Linked DNA regions of Homo sapiens: all the other regions are linked to region 1. The links are contacts of gene promoters, found by promoter capture Hi-C in human tissues and cell types (Jung and others, 2019). All regions are on one chromosome and are shown on one strand. The core of a region is centred on a gene start or on the middle of the fragment in contact, and the rest is flanking DNA. Distances in the headings are between cores, read along the strand shown. Region 1 holds the start of FOXD2 (forkhead box D2). Region 2 overlaps TRABD2B (TraB domain containing 2B). Region 3 overlaps TRABD2B (TraB domain containing 2B).

What was found. Contacts are between HindIII fragments. The study calls those that stand out against the background at their distance.
Region 2: a fragment that was not itself captured here is called in contact with the fragment with the promoter of FOXD2 in region 1 in 1 of the 25 tissues and cell types used here (heart right ventricle).
Region 3: a contact is called between a fragment that was not itself captured here and the fragment with the promoter of FOXD2 in region 1, in 1 of the 25 tissues and cell types used here (pancreas).

What each region holds. Positions count from the first base shown.
Region 1 is chr1:47,435,539-47,440,277 of GRCh38, forward strand. FOXD2 (forkhead box D2) reads left to right here and starts at 2,506. Exons shown (of 1, transcript NM_004474.4): 1 at 2,506-4,739. The coding sequence starts at 2,598. The coding sequence ends at 4,085. LINC01389 (long intergenic non-protein coding RNA 1389) reads right to left here and starts at 1,779. Exons shown (of 5, transcript NR_126355.1): 1 at 1,752-1,779. RefSeq lists silencers at 986-1,145, 1,626-2,525, 2,556-2,735 and an enhancer at 3,924-4,693. The HindIII fragment of the contact is 12,527 bases long and covers 1-4,739 here.
Region 2 is chr1:47,934,233-47,938,971 of GRCh38, forward strand. All of the region lies in intron 2 of TRABD2B (TraB domain containing 2B), which reads right to left. Among named protein-coding and RNA genes, the nearest start is that of TRABD2B, 61 kb to the right of the region's middle. RefSeq lists an enhancer at 1-175. The HindIII fragment of the contact is 4,707 bases long and covers 1-4,633 here.
Region 3 is chr1:47,787,830-47,792,568 of GRCh38, forward strand. The region is part of intron 4 of TRABD2B (TraB domain containing 2B); the gene reads right to left. Among named protein-coding and RNA genes, the nearest start is that of LINC01738, 100 kb to the left of the region's middle. The HindIII fragment of the contact is 8,311 bases long and covers 1-4,739 here.

The DNA.
Region 1 (4,739 bases), core at 1,256-3,755:
CGAAACTCAGTCAAAAAAAAAAAAAAAAAAAAAAAAGAAAAGAAAAAAAAGAAATGAGGACATTCAGAAGGTGAAATGGAGTAGGATGACGCCAACACTGTTTTTCTCTCCACTTGTTTAGATACTAGCAGAGTTGAGCTGGGTTGGAGTTGGTGTGTGGTCCATGGTGTGGGGTATCTGTGAGTGGGGTTCTGGGAGTGTGAGACAGATATCCATGTAGTCAAGAGCAAGCTTGAGGTATGTGTAGGGTTGCCAGATAAAATAAATCTGCTAAATCTAGCAACCCTAGGTATGTGAGTTTCCTTGGACTCATGCAAGAAGCTTCTCTCCAAGACCTTTTTCCCCGGACAGTCTGTCACCCAGGAAATTCCAATTCCAGGGCTACTAGTCCCTGTCCAATTTGCTGTCCATGGTTTGAGGACGAGATTTCTCTTTTTTCCAATGACAGTTTATGCTGGAACAGCACATTAAATGGATCCCCTTGGTCAGAGGTCCCAGAGGGGGCCCAGGCGACTTCCTCTCAAAGGACATGAGTAGTCAGACCTGCCTTCCATTTTTTTCTGCCCTTACCTTGGGGGGATGAAGAACTCTATTTTGAGGATTCTGTGAAAAGGGTTGCAACCCAACTCTGTTCTATTTCTTTGCAGGAGCCTGGGTGAGTTCTTTCTCCCTATCCTGGGCCTCTGTAGCTCCATCTGTGGAATGGGAGAGTTGGATTAACACCAGGCTATCCCGTAGATTGGAGGCTGCTGTTAGATGAAACTGCAAAGTGTTCTCAGTACCCTTTCCTAAATGGCCTAGAATATGGCTACACTTATACATCAGTTCTGAGGTAGGTGTTACTAGCCTCATTTTTACAAAGGCAGAAACAAAGCGCAAAGAACCTTGCCCAAGGTGACAGATAGGGTAAGTAGTGAAGGCAGGATTGGAACCCCAGGAGCCTGACTTAAGGTCGCTGCTCTTAACTACTATGCAGACCAGGAAACTGAGGCTCCGAAGCGGGGAAGTCACCTAATGAGGGTCACACAGCCTTGCTACAGCGGAGGCAGCTGGGATTCCGGCCTCGCACGCCCGAGCTTTAGCCACTGTGCGGCGCTGTCGGGGCAGCAGCCCAGGCATCCGCTCAGTTCCTGCTCACGTCCAGCGCCCATCTCCCCTTCCGTGCCCCAGAGGCTGAAATGGGCCCAATCTGTGTTGAAGCTGCTTGTTTCTGGGTCCTGGAGGGAGGCCGGGGGAGAAAGAGGTCTAATAGGATGGGCAGGAACCCGGCTAGCGAGAAACAAGGCACAGGGCCAACCTTAGTTGCACAAGACTTTTGAGAGATGAAGGCAACACTTGGTGGAGGTCAGGGTTCACTGAGGGGGTGTCGGGCAGGGGGCGGAGGAGGTCCTGCCGCCTGTCGGTGGGGCCCAGAACCCTGGGAGCCAGGAAGGTGGGGGGTGTCCAGTCCTCAGGGCAACTGGGGCCAGGGAGAGGGGAGGGAGAAATTAAGCGGATTCCCAGACCCATGAACAGACATCCAGACAAATGCCGTTTCCACAGAGACTCACGGAGAGTGAGATAGTCACAGAGACTGAGACAAACGGATGCCGAGATCCAGAGGGTCGGAGAACAGGCAAACTCGGAGCAGTAGACCGGCCCGCGCCCCGGGAACGCGGCCACAGCGGCCGGCGCTCTGCCCGGCCTCTCCGCGCGGAGAGGGGTGGCGGGCCCGACAGCGGAGGGAGGAGAGGGCGCCGCCGCAATCTCACCTCTCCCAGGCCCAAGGCTGCGGGCGCCAAGTTCGCTCCTGGTGATCACTCGAATGCGTCTCCCCTCGGGCTGGAAGCCGTGCGGGCTCGGGTGGGCGCCGGCGGGCCGCGCTGGGGCGGCGTGGGTCCCGGCGTCTCAGCCTCGCGCTCCCACTGCGCTTCGGCCCGGTGGCCCGGGCGCCGCCTTGGGGAGAGGACGGGTGGGGACCGCCGCCACTTCCCTGGCTGCGGCTGGCGCCCGAGTGAGCCTTAACATCCAGGGGCTGAGCGTTCTGAAGGCGGCGGCTTCAGGGAGCACAGGGTGCAGGAGCGGCGGCGAAGACAAGGGCCCGCCTCCGGCCACTCGAGCCCAGCTCCCGCCGCGGCGGCGGTTTGTTCCCGCCGGGTCCCTCAGCGGAGGCGCTACGCCCGCCCCTGTCGCCTCGCCCCACCCCGCCCAGGGAGCTCCGCCCTAGCCCGCAGCTCTTCCGCCTTAGGCAGCCGCTAGGCGGGAGGGACAATCCCCCACCACCAACCACTGCCACCCCGAGGGGACTAGGGGCTGAGGCCCGCCCAGGTAAGGGAAAGCCTCAGCTCCTTCCGTTGCGCCCCAGCGGCGGGTCCCAGCTCGGATTCCCGGGGTAGTGGCGGGGGCCGCCGGCGGGTCGTGCCCTGGAAGGTGAGCGCGGCCGAGCTGGGCCGCCAGGGGGCGCTGCGGAGCCGGGGGACACCCCTCCCTGCCTGCCTCAGTCCCCCGCCCCCTCCCCGCCCGCGCGCAAAACGCACTCGCCCCAGAGGCAGCGCGGCCGAGCCCGAGCCGCTGCCGGAGCGGAGCCGGAGAGTGGCGGCGGCGGCGGCAGCGGCACCATGACCCTGGGCAGCTGCTGCTGCGAGATCATGTCCTCCGAGAGCTCCCCGGCCGCGCTGTCCGAGGCCGACGCAGACATAGACGTGGTGGGCGGCGGCAGCGGCGGGGGGGAGCTCCCAGCTCGCTCCGGGCCCCGCGCCCCCCGGGACGTGCTCCCCCACGGCCACGAGCCTCCCGCGGAGGAAGCCGAGGCAGACTTAGCCGAGGACGAGGAGGAGTCTGGTGGCTGCTCGGACGGCGAGCCCCGCGCTCTGGCGTCCCGGGGGGCGGCGGCCGCAGCGGGGAGCCCGGGGCCAGGCGCCGCGGCGGCCCGCGGCGCAGCGGGGCCCGGGCCGGGACCGCCGTCGGGGGGCGCGGCGACGCGGAGCCCGCTGGTGAAGCCGCCCTACTCGTACATCGCGCTCATCACCATGGCCATCCTGCAGAGCCCCAAGAAGCGGCTGACGTTGAGCGAGATCTGCGAGTTCATCAGCGGCCGCTTCCCCTACTACCGGGAGAAGTTCCCCGCCTGGCAGAACAGCATCCGCCACAACCTCTCTCTCAACGACTGCTTCGTCAAGATCCCCCGCGAGCCGGGCAACCCGGGCAAGGGCAACTACTGGACGCTGGACCCGGAGTCGGCCGACATGTTCGACAACGGCAGCTTCCTGCGGCGTCGCAAGCGCTTCAAGCGGCAGCCCCTGCCGCCGCCGCACCCACACCCGCACCCTCACCCGGAGCTGCTGCTGCGTGGCGGGGCCGCGGCGGCGGGGGATCCCGGCGCTTTCCTGCCCGGCTTCGCTGCCTACGGCGCCTACGGCTACGGCTACGGGCTGGCTCTCCCGGCCTACGGCGCACCCCCGCCGGGGCCGGCCCCGCATCCGCACCCGCACCCGCACGCCTTCGCTTTCGCCGCGGCAGCCGCCGCCGCTCCTTGCCAGCTGTCGGTACCCCCAGGCCGCGCCGCCGCGCCTCCACCCGGACCTCCGACGGCCTCGGTGTTCGCAGGCGCGGGATCGGCCCCAGCTCCTGCGCCTGCCTCAGGCTCGGGCCCGGGCCCGGGCCCCGCAGGCCTGCCCGCCTTCCTGGGCGCGGAGCTGGGCTGCGCCAAAGCCTTCTACGCGGCGTCCCTGAGTCCTCCCGCAGCCGGCACCGCGGCGGGTCTGCCCACCGCACTTCTGCGCCAGGGCCTCAAGACGGACGCGGGCGGTGGTGCAGGCGGCGGGGGCGCCGGGGCAGGGCAGAGGCCTTCCTTCTCTATAGACCACATCATGGGCCACGGTGGCGGCGGGGCAGCACCCCCGGGCGCCGGCGAGGGCTCTCCGGGACCGCCATTCGCGGCAGCCGCGGGTCCTGGGGGCCAAGCCCAGGTCTTGGCCATGCTGACTGCTCCGGCCCTGGCTCCCGTTGCTGGCCACATTCGCCTCTCGCATCCCGGGGACGCGCTGCTGTCCTCAGGGTCCCGGTTTGCCAGCAAAGTCGCCGGCCTTAGTGGCTGCCACTTCTGACCGCAGCAGGCCCAGGGCCGGTTAGGTCCGCACTCCTCAGCCTCTCCCGGGAGTTCCTGCGGTCCCAGCGGAACTCAGGGAGTCTATTTATGAAGTCTCCAGACCTTGGGCCGGCACGCGTGACACGGCACTTCAGGCTCCACGCACAGAATCTCGCAGATAGTTGGGACTAAGCGGGCTCTATCGCTCAGGGCGACAGGCCCGGGGCTACGCGAAGAAGTCGCAGGCCAAGATTCTTTACAGTTTGAGAAATAAAAGCAGGGGGGTGGGGGCTTCGTTTTTTTCCCTGCCTCTGCGCCTCTCGGGGAACACATTCCGGGAGAGATGCCTGGCCAGGCTCCACGGATCCCGCCAGAAACACCAACAGAGGGTCTCCCTTTCTGCCTTTCCCCTCTCACTTCTTCCCCAACGTTGAGACCCTGCTTGTCCAATATTATAATTTAAAGACATCTATTATCTGCTTTGTGCTTAAAAGAAAAATTCAACCTTTTTTTTTTTTTTTTTTTTTTTGCTGTTCTCCAAGGAAGTTCGTTTCCTCTGAAGCCTAAACCAGTGTCTACGCAGGCGGAGCTGAACGGAGAGGTGAAGCAGGGGGTCTTTATATTCCCTGCAGAAACCCTGGATCCCACTCCACTGAGGAAAATCCTTTCTCTT
Region 2 (4,739 bases), core at 1,030-3,529, 500 kb after region 1:
TGACTCCCCAGTCTCTGGTTCATCCCACCACACTAGGCTGACCTCACACCTATGCAGGGCCTGGCCCTGGAGGTGCTTTGTGAAGGAGTCCTCCCCATTCCCACACCCCCTCCCACAGTCCCTGCAGGCACACAGGTCAGGCCCACAGCCCTGTCCTAGCTGGTAAGGCGCATTCTTCTGGCAGTGCTGCTGCATCACTCACAGACGTCTGGGGGCAGAGGCTGAGTGTGGTGAGGCAGGAGGCCTTGGCTGCCAGCGGGAGGGGCAGGCGGGCCCAGAGCCTGCTAGCATTCTGCTCCTTGGATCTCCCCTCGCGTGAGCAGCTTTGGGGAGTTCTCTTGGTGCTGTTGTAATTTATTGTTTCTGCTCTAATGATTGCTCCATGTCTGATTATAAATGCCTTCTGGCTGGGGGCCCAGACTCAGAAAATTCCCGTGATCTGCTTCCAAAGCTGATGGAGCCACAAATGGGACTGATGTCTCTGTTTCGTCATCGGCCACATTTACAAGGGAGGAGGATCCAAGGCCAGACACAGGGCTTAGAGTGGAGATGTAACAGGAGGCATCTGGTGACCTGGAATTCCCATCAGAGCCCCAACAGGGCATCTCCTGAGTCCTGGAGAACCTTCAAGATGGTACTCAAAAGAGCCTACTCCCTTCCTCTCAAAATGCAAGGCAGAGTCCGAGTTGGAAGCAGCAGGTGATACAGTCACAGTGAAAGGGGCCTCCGAAAAACACTGTCCAACCCTGCTAATGCCCTCTCTTTATCCACCTGGAAAATTCCTACTCATGCCTCAGGAGGCAGCTTTGGCATCCTGCAAGAAGCCTGCTCTGACACCCACAGCCTCCCACCCGCAGGTAGACAAGTAGTCTCTACTCCCTGTAAATCTCTTCTAGCATGGCACACCATAATCATAATTACACCTACTATTTACTGAGGGCTTCCTCTTTGCCAGGCACCATGTACCTTATCTATTTTTCACCTCATCCCTGGGAGAAAGGCACTATCCTTATCCACATTTGACAGACTAGGGAACAAAAGCTCAGAGAGGTTAAGGGAGTTGCTTAAGGTCAAACAACTGCCAAATAATGGAGCTGGACTTAAATTCAGAAGATTCCAACCCAAAATTTAAGCCTTACACCACATGTGTTCGCACCCGTCGTCACTGTATTGCAACAGGCTGTTTTGTCTCTTGCTTCATTAAAATAGAGCTTCTGGGGACATATCTGACCTCAATAACACGGGTACTCAGGAAATGACCACTGAGCAAACTTCACATAAAGAAAGTCCTAGTGCACTAAGTAGGTAATAAAATTAGGGCAGTCACTTATTACTGCCCTACTGCAGGATATTTAAGAGGACTCAAAAAAGCAATGGGCAAAGGCTTCAACAAGCAAGTAAGATAGGACTGCAGGAAAAAAACACTATATCTCAACTGGGACTGAAAAGTCCTGAATTTTCTAGGTTAGTCCTACTTTTAAATACCATATCTCATCAGTTCCTTATGTCACCAGAATGACCTAGAAACCCCAATATTTAGATATCTAAACTGTATCTCTTATATGATATTTCATGCCCACGCATCCCAAATATCCCACTATGTCTTGTAATTTAGGATGCAGGAAATAAAGCCACAGAAAAAAAGAGCTTCAACTTTAGAGGAAGGCAGACTCATGCTCAAATTCCAATTTTGCTGCTCATTAGCTGTGCAATCCTGGACAAACTGTTTCCCTTCTCTGAGACTCAAATGTAAAAATAGAGCTAAGAGCTGCTGCCTTGCAGGGCTGTTAAGCGTAGTAAACAGAAGAACATATGGGAAAGCACCCAGAATGGCACCTGGCACACAGGAGGGACTCAGGAACTATGAGGTCTCTCCTCTCTCTCAAATGAGGTCAGGCAAGAAAGCCATTCTTAGCAACAGACTCAGCTGAATGCAAAGGGTGTGATGTACTGGTGGACCAATGATCAAAGAGAAGAGATTGGTTTACTTGGGGCTGAGGTCATGAATTGACTTCTTCATCATTTATAGACTCACAATGAGTGTGGATGAAATAACAGGCCACCCTAAGAGCAGCCCTACATTAGGGCAGATGGAAAGAGATGGGTAAAATCTTGCCCCACTCCCAACTAGGAGCTCACAGGGTGCTGGAGCAGAAAAACAACAGGAAAGGTGAACAGAGAACCCAGCAGGTATGAGGGCAAAGGGCAGACAGACCATGAGGAGGTCTACCAAGCCTAGAGATGTCAGGAGAGGCTTGTGGAAGAGCTGAGTCTTGAGGAAGGGATAGAACTTCTAGGAAAGCGTATCTTCAGTTACAGAGGAGTGCTGTACAGACAAAGGAAAAGGCATAAAAAGGATAATAAGTTTTAAAAATTAGTTTGCCACTATATTTCGGATTTTGGAGGAAGCTTAAAAAAACCTATTGCACTCTCCTTGTTGTCAAAGGTATTCTGTTTCCTCCGCTTATGAGCTGCGTGATCTTGGCCAAGTTAATCATTCAATGCTTCAGTTTTCTCATCTGTAGAATAAGTATGATAACAGTACCTGCCACATTGGAATGTTCTATGGAATAAGTATGTGGAAACCATTTACAACACATTGATCAACAAATAAGAATCATCATCATCATCACCACCACCACCACCATCACCATCACTACCATCACCATCATGATCATCACCATCACCACCACCATAATTATCACCATCACCATCATCACCACCACCATCATGATCATCACCATCACCACCACCATCATGATCACCACCATCACCATCATCACCACTACCATGATCATCATCACCATCACCACCACCACCATCATTATCATCATTATCACCATCATCATCACCACTACCATGATCATCACCACCACCACCAGCATGATCATCACCATCACCATCATTACCACTACCATGATCATCACCATCACCACCACCACCATCATTATCATCATTATCACCATCATCATCACCACTACCATGATCATCACCATCACCACCACCACCATGATCATCACCATCACCATCATCATCACCACTACCATCATGATCATGACCATCACCACCACCATCATGATCATCACCATCACCACCACCATCATGATCATCATCATCACCACCACCGTCATGATCATCATCATCACCATCACCATCATAATCATCACCATCATCACTACTACCATCATGATCATCACCATCATCATCACTACTATCATCACCATCATCACCACCACTGTCACTATCATCACCATCATCATCACTATCATTGTCATCACCACCATCATCATCATTATTACAAATGAGAAAACTGAGGCCCAGAAAATGGAAGAGGTTTGTTCAGGGTGACTTAGAGAGTCAGAGGCAGGCCCTGACACTTTTACTTTTCTACCATTCACAGAATTTTTAGGAAAAAAAAAAACAAGCTTCCTGTCACAGGTAAGAGACCCAAGATCCTTGATAAAGGAGTAGGGTTCATGGAGGTGGGGCCACCCAATGTTTAAGTGAAGGTATTGTCTCTTAAGGCCAATCATTCTGCCTCCTGCCCTGTGGATGCAAACTGTCCTTCAGCTCATACCACCTGCAGCCAAGGACAGAGGGGAACATTCCAACCCCGATACCCAGGGAGATAAATCAAATGCTCCAGACTCAGTGAAGGATTGAAGCAGGGGCAGTGCACATGTCTGTCATGACTTCCTTGTTCCAAGAGGATATGGGAAAAAACTCCTAGCTCCCCACCTCAATCCCACAGTGGTCTCCAACAATATTATGATTCTCCAGTTCTACTACTCATGATATATTTTGCCAGCCGCAAATGGGGCCTAAATTACATATTGTAGCCACCAAACTTCCGGCACAGGCCCACAGAACAAGGCCTGAGGGAAATTAGATGAGGCCAAAGGGAACTCAGGCCTGGAAGAGACTAGAAAACAGAAAGGGATGTATAGTCCATTAGCAGGACCCTTCTCTCTTTTAAGTGTTATACAGGTGAGCGGGGTTCAACGCTGCAGGCACAGAGAGGCCACAGAAGGTGAAGGAAAGGAGAGCAGAGAGGCCAAGCAAGAGTAAACTCAGGATTAAAGAGTCAAACCACCACTGGTTATTTTAGTCCCAGCTCTATCTGTCTCTGGAGTATGGCCATCTACAAACCTTTTCACCTGTCCATCTGTTTTTCTGAAAACTATGGTCCTTTCTGTCTCAAGTCCTGGACTAAACATAGTGGTGGATAGGGAGGTAGGAAGCAGTGGTAGAAGGCATCTGCTCCAACCTGTCTTCTTTTTGGAAGCACTAGACACTGGGAAAATGCATCTTTCTCCTCTGCTTTGAGAATAGTGCATACTCCATGACTTTAGCTTACTAACAGCTGGAGGGATCCCAGAGGAATTCTTCTCTCTGGGATTGAGAATGGGAAATGGAGAAGAGAGATCTCCCACTTTCCTTTTACTGGAATCATGTGTCCCTGTCTAAAACGATGGTGTTGGACTGGATTCAGTTCAACTCCAGCAGGAAGCACACAACATTTGAGACCTGTGGGGTGAAGACAGTGCACACAGCCGGAGAGAAGGTCTTGGCTGAGAACCAGAGGACTCATTTCTTCTGGAAGCAGGGATTTGAGATAGTTTCTTGGCAGGAGGAGGATAAGAGGTTGACTTTAATGGGTTCTGAATCTCATACACAGAAAAGTAAGAGTGTGTGCATGAGACAGACAGAGACAGAGACAGAGACAGAGAGGGGCAGAC
Region 3 (4,739 bases), core at 792-3,291, 350 kb after region 1:
TGCTCAGGGAGTGGACATCCTAGACTGGGAGCATGAGAGAGGCTGTGATAGCAAAATCCTGGAGGCCTATGGGAGCCCAGAAGGGAAATCAGGGAAGGCCCAGCAGAAGAATTCCCAGCAGAACAGAGGGCCCAAGTGACAGCTGGATGGATTTTTTAGGGATCAGGATGACTTCCTGGTCATCAGGAAGAATGACCTAGACAATGTGACCACCATTTCACTTCAGTTCTAAGACTCTCTGACATCCCATCTGTACTTGGATTTACTGACCAGCCAAATGGAATAATAAATACCATCCTGTTTCCCTCCAAGAGGAATTGAGGATGTGGAAGGGCCATATAAGTTGATGGATATGGGAATTTTTTCAAGCAGGATGGTGTCCACTCTCTAGGGAGCAATTTCTAACGTTATGAATTTTAAAAGGTGTTAATGGTATTCTGTGTGTTGGTCTTATATCTCTCCCTTCTCTCAAGCCTGGGTGCTTACCTCTGATCTGCTTCTGTGTCCCAGCTTCACAGGTGTGTTTTGGATTATGGGGTCTGCGGCACTCTAGCTGGGGTAGAAACAGGCTGGCATGAGCCTGGGGGCTGCATGTGCCAAATGTGTGGGTGCCTGAGTAATGGAGCCAGCCTCTCTGTCTCTGGTGCTCACACTGCTTGCCTCTTAACTCTTCAAGTTCTGCCTTCTGCCTGGACTTCTGCTCCCTGTGGAGCAGGTGACAGCAGTCCTGCGAAGAGTGATTTCCATTCCTGGAAGGCTCTTAGCTCCATACTCCTCCCAAGGAATCCAAGAGAGGCTGGAGCAAATAATGCTAGCATGTTAGAAGGCTCTGATTACAGCATGCTGGAATATTAGAGCTGTGCAACTTTAAAGCAACAGCATGTTAGGGTCAAGGATTTTGGAATGTCAGAAGTTAGAATTATACTCAGATTATAGCACGTGCTAGGGACGGAGTGTGTGATAACCACTGGTTCTCAGAGTTTGAAATGAATGGGCCCTAGAGGTTACCTGGTCCACCCCTGAGTCCGGCTCATGTCTCCAGCCCAGTTCCTCTAATTCCTACATTACTCATTCTAGTCCAGGAAAAAAGAATGCTAGAAGATTTCTGGATGGCTGAACAAGTAAATATCCTGAGAAACCTGTTTCCCTGGAACTAAGGGTAAAATTGTAATTTTCTTCTAGTGCATAAGACTGGACCCCACCCCCACAATTGGGCCTGGAGATACCTTGACTCAATGGAATGAACTTCATTCTGTGTGATTTGGTCCAGTATGTCCTCACAGAACATCTCCTAGGTGTCAGCAATTCTGAGGCGTATGTGCCCTGTCCTGGAGTAGTTCACATGCAATGGGATGATCACTGAGCAGTGGGTGCTAGGATAAAATCAGCACACAGGCCTGGGTGACAACATCCACATTTACACCCCAGCTGCTTGGTGTTGCTGGAGAAAATCTTACACCCGTGACTTGGCAGGTTCATGGGCCCTCATTGCAGTCAGCATCCTCTATGTTCCTAGCATAGACAGAGCAGATTTGTAGCTGGCATGTGCCCTAATCTCGGTCCCCAGCAGACATCACAAATCAATAAGGGCCTCTTCTCTGCTGGGCTCTGATGCGACTTTATCATCTTATACCATAACGTTCCAGGCAGGTGCTACCAATCAATCATAATGGCCCATGGGAGGAAACATCTTTAACTTCTTGTCCTGGTCAGTTCTTGTGGCCAATTTCTCTTATGTCAAATAGTCTCACCTCTTCAAACCAAGAATCCTCCCTTCTCTCTCCTCTTCCTCTGTGGATGACTTCACCTTCTACTTCAGACAGTGGTGCTCTGATTAGAAGCCATCAGCTGAGAATTTGCTCCCTTTTTGGCTGCCAAATTACTTGCCTGCCAGCCTCCTCCCTCCTTCCCTTCAGTTACAGGTGAAGAGGTGTCTTCCTCCACCCAAGGCGTCCTCCTCAACCCTGCACCCAAGCTCTGGTCCCCACCTTGCTGCCTTCTTGGAACCTCAGGCTTATCATTTTTCCCCCCTCTCTCCTGTATCATCAGCCTCACTCATCCTAGAATATTCTCTTCCTCATATTTCAAGCATGCTCAATTCTTTCTCATCTTAAAAAAAAAAAAGGTAGGTGAGTGGGAAGAACAATGCAATTACCAGATTTTCATTTTGCCAAATGAGGACTTTGAGACTTTTATCTGCTTCCCACCATCATCTTTTTAATTTTCTTAAGTAAGGAATATTTTAACTTCAAACACAGTTGAAAGGAGATAATTTCAGAATATAAACCTGTAAATTGAATAAATTTAGCTAACAAGGAATTCACCACCTTGTACTTATTTTTCTGTTAATTGTACCAGAGGAAACCCAAGGACCTGCATCTACAAGCAACTGGACTAGAAAATCTTGGGGGGCTCTTGAGGCTCAGCCTGTCCAGCTACAGGAGCTCAGCAGACAGAAAATGGGCTTTTCCTCCCCTCTGGATGACACACCCCTCCATGGCCACAGCCTGGCTACTTCCAGAACATCTGGGCTTGCACACTGGCCACAGCCACCTCCTGGATAGGGAGGGCTTCCATCTGGGCCCCCCCAGCATCACCCAGGCCTGCTCAAGGTTGTCACACATTTGCACCCCACCTGCCCTGAACTGCAGGGTAACCTCTAGAAGAGGTCACACAGTGCCAGGTTGCAGAAACATCACAGATGCTAAGAGTATTTCATGAGAGGCACCAGCTAAACAGGCACTCGTTTCCACAAAATCATCAACACTTTTGTATGCATACAGCAAGGGCACCACGTGCAAGGGAAATGGCCACACCTGGGACTCAAGAGGCCAGGCTTCCCATGGCAGGTCTGCCTCCATGGCCTTGAGGAAGCCGTTCATCTTCCCTGAGGCTTTGTTTTCATCTGCAAAATGAGTATCATTAAAATCCATCTCGTGGTGTTACGTAATCAGAGAGCCTGGAATGGTGGCTGGCACATAGTAAGGGCTTTTATGATAAGAACCCTTCCACCATGGAAGAGCATTTTAATACTGTGTTCTCAAATGAGTGTATCCAGAACAATCCCATGAGGCAGATGTATTGTCCCAGTTTTACAGATGAGGGACTGAGGCCCTTGGAGGTGAAATGGCTTTCCCAGCATCTCTTAGCTCACAGTGGCAGAGCCATACTTTACACCCAGGCCTCCTGACCCCAAAGCTCTTACCCTTTGCACTGAAGCCCCCTCAGAGCAGAAGAGAGGAGAAGCCAGACTGCAGTCAGCACTGGAAATCCCTGTCTGTCCTCGCAGGCTCTCAGGGCAGGATTCTGGAGCTGGGCTGGGTCGGGGTTGGGTCCTAACAAGCACTGGAGGGGCCAGGCAGGCGGAGGCTCAATCTCTCACCTTCACATGCTTGGCCCCATCCAGACTCCAGAACCACAGAGCTTTCAGGAACTTCAGCTGGACACTGAGGCTGGGCCTGTCGTGGAATGACAGAAGAGCCCCCAGCAGGGGCTTGGCTCAGACACCTGGCAAGGCTGGGTTGGTGGGGGTCATATGTTTCTATTTCCAGAGATGTTTCTTAGAGATACCCATGGACTCTAGGCTTGAGAGACATTTGCATGAGCAGACACATGCCTGGGGGATGGATAGCTGCATTCCTGGTAGTATAGACCCTTCCTACATCCCATAGCCTTGGGGGTCTTATGAGTTATTTGGGACCTGGCAGGCAATGGGCTGCGAGAGCCCACTGAGTCCCAGGGTCCCCACTGCCCGGCAGTCCGGGGACAGAACTGCAGGGGCCCCCAGGTGGGTAGGTGAGGAGTGGAGCGGGTATGTCTTCAGGTCTCACTCCACCAAGAGAGTGCTTAGTCCCAGCTCTGCACGTAAGTCAGCCTGTCACCAGATGTGGGACTCAGAAATTACATGATCATAAGAATGTAACGAGGCCGGAGTGGACTTCCCTCACCACAGCTTTCATGCGGATGCGTTCCATGTCAATAGGATGACTCTGTAACAGGCCCGCTGGGGTGGCTCAATGCCCTGCACACAAAAACAGAGCCCTTGGATCATAGATCCTGGGCCTAGGGTACGGTTCTGGCCTTGTCCTGGACTTTCTGGGGGCTTTGCTCATGTCCCTGCCCTCTGTGGACCTCAGTTGTCCCACAGCCAGGATGAGGTGGGCAGCTCAAGCTCAGAGGCTCTGTCCAGCTTGGAAATTCTTGGGTGGAAAGGAGATCTGCTGTGCAGAGTGGGCCATTTGTTCCAGGCATGGCTGAGCCAGGAGAAGTGGCAGCTGCCAGCAGGATCTGCACGTGGCTCCAGATCTGTTGTTTTTGGAGAGTGGATTCATGAGAGCGGAGGTGAGTCTCCCTTTGCCCTGACTTTACTGCTGGCCTATCCTTATAAATTCACCAGCCCAGAGGAGAACAGGATGGGAGACCCTGGTCAACGTTCATTTCTTCACTCATTCATTCTTTCATTCACTCAGCAAACTTAAAGCCTATTACATGCTACCAAAGACACAGCGATGATTAAGTGGTGCCCCACCTCTGAGGCGAGCATGGGAGACAAAGCCAGCACCACTCACTGACCACAATGTGGGGAGGAGTCCAGAGGCAGGGAGGAGGGGAGGAGGCTGGGACTGGGATAGTGCCAGTGGGCATGGACAGAATGGATGGGTGTGAGGTCTTTCTGGTGGCCTGTCAACAGGATTCACTGGGGACTGATTACATTTTGGAGATGGGAGAAGCTGGCGTTT